Linked DNA regions of Homo sapiens: region 2 is linked to region 1. The links are contacts of gene promoters, found by promoter capture Hi-C in blood cells and fetal thymus (Javierre and others, 2016). All regions are on one chromosome and are shown on one strand. The core of a region is centred on a gene start or on the middle of the fragment in contact, and the rest is flanking DNA. Distances in the headings are between cores, read along the strand shown.

The links. The method cuts DNA at HindIII sites, captures the fragments that hold promoters and counts their contacts. A CHiCAGO score of 5 or more calls a contact.
Region 2: a contact is called between the fragment with the promoter of ABCB10 here and the fragment with the promoter of AIDA in region 1, in 1 of 17 cell types (neutrophils). The highest score is 10.6, in neutrophils.

Annotation. Positions count from the first base shown.
Region 1 is chr1:222,711,112-222,713,956 of GRCh38, forward strand. It overlaps AIDA (axin interactor, dorsalization associated), which reads right to left and starts at 1,380. Exons shown (of 10, transcript NM_022831.4): 1 at 1,097-1,380. The coding sequence starts at 1,206. It overlaps BROX (BRO1 domain and CAAX motif containing), which reads left to right and starts at 1,453. Exons shown (of 13, transcript NM_144695.4): 1 at 1,453-1,831. RefSeq lists enhancers at 1,148-2,062, 2,431-2,650 and a silencer at 1,261-1,480. The HindIII fragment of the contact is 15,501 bases long and covers 1-2,845 here.
Region 2 is chr1:229,556,784-229,559,959 of GRCh38, forward strand. ABCB10 (ATP binding cassette subfamily B member 10) reads right to left here and starts at 1,924. Exons shown (of 13, transcript NM_012089.3): 1 at 1,353-1,924. The coding sequence starts at 1,869. RefSeq lists silencers at 1,134-1,583, 1,644-2,343 and an enhancer at 2,514-2,703. The HindIII fragment of the contact is 4,467 bases long and covers 287-3,176 here.

The sequences.
Region 1 (2,845 bases), core at 130-2,629:
GGGGTATTCTACTCATACGTGGTTTCATACTCAGTGAAATCTCAAACAATAACTTGCTTTAAACAGAGAATAATTAATGGCGAGTTTGCAAACAATAGCATTTTGGCAGACAGTTCTTAAGTTCAGTAAAATGTGCAAAAACCTAAGCAAGGTTTTATGTGTATATAAATCTTGTCTTTTATTTTTTAAGACAACCCTGAAGTTTTCTGTGGAAACCAGAAAGGGCAAGAAATTGGTCTTAGGTTGCTCAAGGAAACTGGTACTCACTTGTACCCTGCGGCTATACATTATATACAGGAAAAGGAGGAGGGATCCAAGGAGGGCGTGGAGCTCCTGTGCGTGGTCCATTAATTCACATTTTGCTCTCTTCGGTTCACATCCTGCGCGGACTCCACCCAAGGCAACCGAGCGAGGGGGTGGGTGGGACTCACAGCCTACCAAATAACAGTCCCAGAAACCGAAACGAAATCGAGGTGGAATTCTGAAAACACGGCTCACCAGAAAGAGGGGTGGAGAAGGAGCGCGAGAGGAGACCCTTCTTTTGGCAGAAGAGGTATCCCTGGCCCTCGTTGCTTCCTGGGCTCCCCCCCATCCCCTCAATCGCAAACAGTTCCCTCCTTTCCTACGCATGGAAGAAGGAAGACACACACAGAGCAAGGCCACTCATCCTTGGAACGTGGGCGGAGAACACACAAGTATTCCTCAGAGAATTTCAAAAGGAAATCGAGGAAAAGCAACCTGGGAGAGGAGGAGGAAAGGAAACTGACTGCCAAGTGGGGGACCCGCGAGACGGTGGAAAGGAACTAAGCAGATAGCCTGCTGGGGCCTGCGCCCCAGGAAAGAAGGGCTACCTGTTGAATGGAACTGTCCCTGCGGAGGCGGAGAGGGAAGAAGGCGAGTCACCCCAGAGAGCGGAGCCGTTGTCCCTAGAGCAGCCTCGCTGGGGCTGGTGGCGAGGGATCTCAGCCCCAGTGCCTGCGGAGCCCCACCCTGAGAAGCCTTGGCTGCAGATACGGTGATGAGAGACACCGACAGAAACAAGGGAGAGGCGCACGACTGGAGCCGGTCTGGCCTGCTCCCGCGGTTAGTCACTCACATCTGATACTCGTCTATCGCCTCCACCAGCTGGCCCCAAGAGTCGAAGTCGGCGCCTCTCCTAAAACTGGCGCCCCAGCGCTGCAGCAGACTCCGGGTCACCTCCGACATGGCCGGTCCCCACCCCGTCCCCTCCCGCCCCTACCCCAGCAAGGCCGGGTTCTAGGGCGCCATCCTCCCCCGGCCTGGCCCCGACATTAACAGGGCCAGGAGGAACCGCTACGGCCACCACCGCCACCCGCCGAGGAGCCGCCCAAGCCCATTTGCCGCCACAGCCAAACTTTGCGGCTCCAAAGCGACCGCCCCGCCGAGACCCCGCCCCCGAGGCCCCGCCCCGGGTTAGGTTGAGGCCGCCCCACTGCGCCGAGGGCCGCCATCGCTATTGCGGCATTCTCCCTCGGCTCCGGAGGTAGGGGCAACTCTTCTCTTCCTGTCTGGGAAAAAGACCATAGCTCAAAAGGAAGGCCGAGGGAGAAGTTAGAAAGGGATGATGAACGAAGCGTTTTGAGGGGACTGCAACGCCGCGGCAATACCCGCCCCTGAGCTGCGCGCACTACCGCCTCGGTAGCTATCATGGCCGCCGGGTCACGTGACTCCGGCTTGGCGCCGTCCTGGTTTTCCGTCACCCTGGTTCTGTAGTCTCGGTTCTCCGACTCCCTCTTTTTCTCGCTTGTGGACTCCGATATATTGCCCTTCTTCCCTTAGAAGAACTGCTGAACCGACTCTGAGAAATTTGGTAAGTATGTCAGAGGATGGGTGTTTCTCAGTAATATCCCCCGCTACTTCCCCGGAGTCTCAAGCAATAGGATCACCCCCTTTTACATTAGTCTCCATAGACCCCTGGACAGTGGACCAAAAGTCTCCTTCTAGTGCCTTGAAACAAACGACAGAAAGAAAATCCATATTGGTCACCACAAATCAGTGGCATTAACAGCTAGATCCGCTGAATCCCCTTGCCCCGCATCTCCATTGGTCATTGGAGAGCTTATAATACAAGCTAAACTGGGGTTCGTTCGGCCGTTGTCTGGCCACCTCTCCCGGGTTGACAGTATCGGCTTTCCACAAAAATGCCTGTTTGGAAAGAGGGGAACTCAAGTGTTGGCGCGTGCGCACGGTCGCCGCCCGCTGCCTCGAACGGGACTGGGCACGGGAGGAAGAGGCTGGGTGGTAAACAGGAAGTGGGCGCTCAGAGCTCGGGGGCGGCGCTCAGGTAGGTTCCTCTGGGGACTCGGGGCTTCCGGGGTGGGGGTCCCTTGTTAGGAGCGGGAGTCCTCTTGTGGAAGTGTGTTAGCTTACAGCTTCGATCCGAATGTTGTATTGGTGGCTCTAAAGGCACCCTTGTCCCTGCGGGTGGGTGTGTCGTTCTTCTATCCCACCCTAGGAACTCCCGAAAACTGAAGACCGCCGGGTCGCAGAAGGGGAGAAGATGGGGCAGGGGCAGAAACCCTCTTCTTTCCTGAAGTAAAGATTCGCAAAACTTCAGACATTTTCATCCAGGAAGTAGGAGGCCGCATTAAAAGAAGTATTTGTGGAAGATTTCGCAGCCTCAAGTGCTGAGTGTGATATTATTTGTAGGCACATAGATGCTGTATTAGGCTATCGGAATTTATATGGAAGATGTGTAGAAGATGATATTTTCTGAAATAACTCGTTAAATGTTTTGAGTCCTAAATAAACCTGCTCAGTTTTTCGTTGGGTACACACTGTATTCTCTATTCATTAAGTATGTGGTGCTCCTCAAAACCAGCTT
Region 2 (3,176 bases), core at 674-3,173, 6.8 Mb after region 1:
GGGTTTCTAAAGGCCTCACTCTGTGCCTGGTGGTATGGTCATTTATTCCTTCACTGAAGGCACTCTGAGCGCCTGCTCTGTGCCGTGCACATGCTAAGAACTAGAGACAGAAAGATGAATCGCACAGTCCCCGTCTCAAGCAGCTCAAAGTCCAGTGAGAGCTCCTAGTCTCCAATGTTTTTAAAAAGAGGAAAGAGAAAAAGATATTTTACAACAAAATCTACACTCAACCAACTGAACAATGAAATAATTCTCTTTACACCCGAGTGATATCAACAGCCCCCTAAGCTTTCATAGCAACTGGTAGATGAAAAGTCGCCACCCTAACTGCTCTCCTCCACTGTGCAAACCTACTCTAAATCCCAAATCACTACCCAGGAGGGTCCTTTCTAAAGCAATGGATTTGCAGCAAAGAATGCTTTTCTGGTGTTGCACCTGACAACCTCACAGGCCCCACAGGCCCCCTTCCACAGCCCACAGGTGCAGGTTTACCTCTATACATACGAATATTTCATAGATGCTTCTCCCCACTAACCTAGAAGCCCCAGCAGAAGTGAGGACCATGTTTCCTTGTGCATGCCACTGTAAACCCAGGGCCCAGTCCAGAATGAGGGCTCAACAGATGTTTATAGAAGGAGTGAAGATTTAGAGAAATCGAAAAAATTTTAGATCTTACAAGGCCCTTGCATCTAAACACTCCTCCAATTATGGCTAAAAAATGAGGAGCTATAGAAAACTGTCCTATTTAAATTTTGTTTCTAAAAACATTCATTTTGGCTTCTTTTAAAAAAGTTACTCAATTACTGAACAGATCACTGGTGTGGCCTGTTGAACACAGTGCTGTAACTTCCTGCACAAGAGACAAGTCTGAAAGTTTTGCTTTCCGCTGTGAAAGCATTGGTGACTGCTTGACAGACTCGCTTGAAGCAAATAATGTGTTTTTGGTTAAAAAAAAAAAGTATAAACGCCTAATAACAAAATAGGCATATTTTTGGCTAGAATTTTTTTTTCCAAGGAAAAACCTCCAGCTCATTTTGCTGCCTAAGCCAAAACAGATGCTCCCACTAAGTTGGTGGTGGAACAGACCCAAAGATTCCAATAATGACATATATAACGTGTGTCAACAAGAAAACAAGTGTAAAATCTGCAAACGAGTCCCCAGCTAAGGCGAAATCTTGACAACGCTACTCTGAGGTGAGCGATCCCCTCCCTCCTCCGGGGTTAGGAGTGGCCCAGGAGAGGCGGCGGTGACACGCGCTCTGCGGCCCGGCCGTGTCCCTCTCGGCGCCCCGGGACCCCGCGTGTGGAGAAGGAGAGGCCCGGCGGAGGGAAGTGGCCGGGGAGGACCCTACCTGCCAGCCTCCGGCGCTCAGGGTACGCCAGCCCCAGGAGCTTCCGGGCCTCCGGGAGTCCGGCCGCTGCGGGGCGCAGCCGCCCCTTGTCCCCGGGAGGCGCCGCCGGCCCGCGCCGCCAGGCCTCGTCCCCTGCCCAGGCAGCGGCTGCGGGACCGCCCGGGAACCGGGCGCGCGGGAGCCGAGGAGCGCCTGGCCCGGCAAAAGCCCCGCACCTGCAGCTGCCGGGGCCGCGAGCCCACAGCCCCAGGAGCCGCGCGAGGCCCAGGACGCCCCGCGAGGCGCCCGGACCCCCGCCCCGGCAGCCGCTCCTCCAGCGGCGCGCGGCTCCAACGCCCCAGAGCAGCGCGGGCCCCGCGCCCCATAGCCGCGCCGGCCTCAGGCCAGTGAACGGCGATAGGGACCCGGGAACGCGGCTGGCCGCGGCCCACACGCAGGCTACCGGCAGGAGCCGACCTGGCTCGGCAGGGCTCGGTGGCTCGAGCAGCCGCAGCGGCCAGGCAGGGGGGCCTCGCATGGCGCTGCGTGCGACCCGTACGCCTCAGCCCGCCGGCCAGGCGCGCGCAAAGCCCGAGGACCCTCCCGGCCCGGCCCCGAGCAAAGGGCGTGGACGCGGTGGCGCCCGCCCCTCCCCGCTGGCTGTCACCCGCCTTATCGTGCCTGCACCCTCGGGCTGCGCCCGCCCCCGCCCCATCCTCGTCCGCGCGGTGCCGCGCCTCTCCGCCCCACTCCGGGGACTGCAGCTACCCGGACCTTGCAAGCCACCCTTCCGAGCGCCCCCAACCCGCTCGGGTGCCCTCCCTGCAGCGCCCCCAACTGCCCGCTGGCGGAGGAGCGCCGGGCGCGCCAGCTGGGACGAGGCCCGGGAAGCCCAGGAGCACGGCTGCGCCTGCGTACTGGGCGCAGGGAACTTTTTCGCGCTTCGCCGTCCCCTCTGGTCTGAACTTGGGAACGACACGAGCTCTTTCTCACGCCGGCAGACCGGGCGGAGCGCGCAGACGCGACCACACGATGGCCGGCACAAAGATGGGGCGGGAGGACAGCGTGCTGGATACGGCGTGGGGCGGGTCCGCGGCCCGGGAGACCCATGCTGGGGCGGCCCTGTCACTCGTCTCGCTGCCAAGCACAGGGCTGAGGTGCGGAGGGACCACTGAGAGGACTTCGCTGCGTGTCAGCTCAGCTCTGGACGGCGTGGAGGAGGTGGTTGGCGAATAGTGAAATGTATATAACTTTGAGAAGGGAAGAGATCGTTTCTTTTTTTTCTTTTTTTTTTTTTTCTTGAGACGATCTCGGCTCACTGCAACCTCTGCCTCCCAGGTTCAAGTGATTCTCCCTTCTCAGCCTCCCAAGTAGCTGGGATTACAGGCATACGCCACCACACCCGGCTGATTTTGTATTTTTAGTAGAGACGGGGTTTTACCATGTTGGTCAGGCTCTTTTCGAACTCCTGACCTCAGGTGATCCGCCCGCGTCAGCCTCCCAAAGTGCTGGGATTGCAGGCGTGAGCCACCGTGCCCGGCCTGAGATCGTTTCTTAACTAGAGCAGAAATTTGAAGACAGGCGTGGTCGAGGCATTCCCGCTGTTCGAAGTGGAAAACACTAATCAGAAGGCAATGCATCTTAATACACGTGCATGGAAAGACAGGAGAGAACATTAAAACTCACTGGGACACTTTATGGAGACTTCATGGGGGCGGGGGGGGATATGTACCTGAGGTCCAGTGAGTCGTGGGTAGATTTTTGTAGACTCCTAGGTATTTTTACTGGACCTGGACAGGGTACTGTCAGTTGCAAATTTTATGGGTTCACAAAATAAAAAAACCT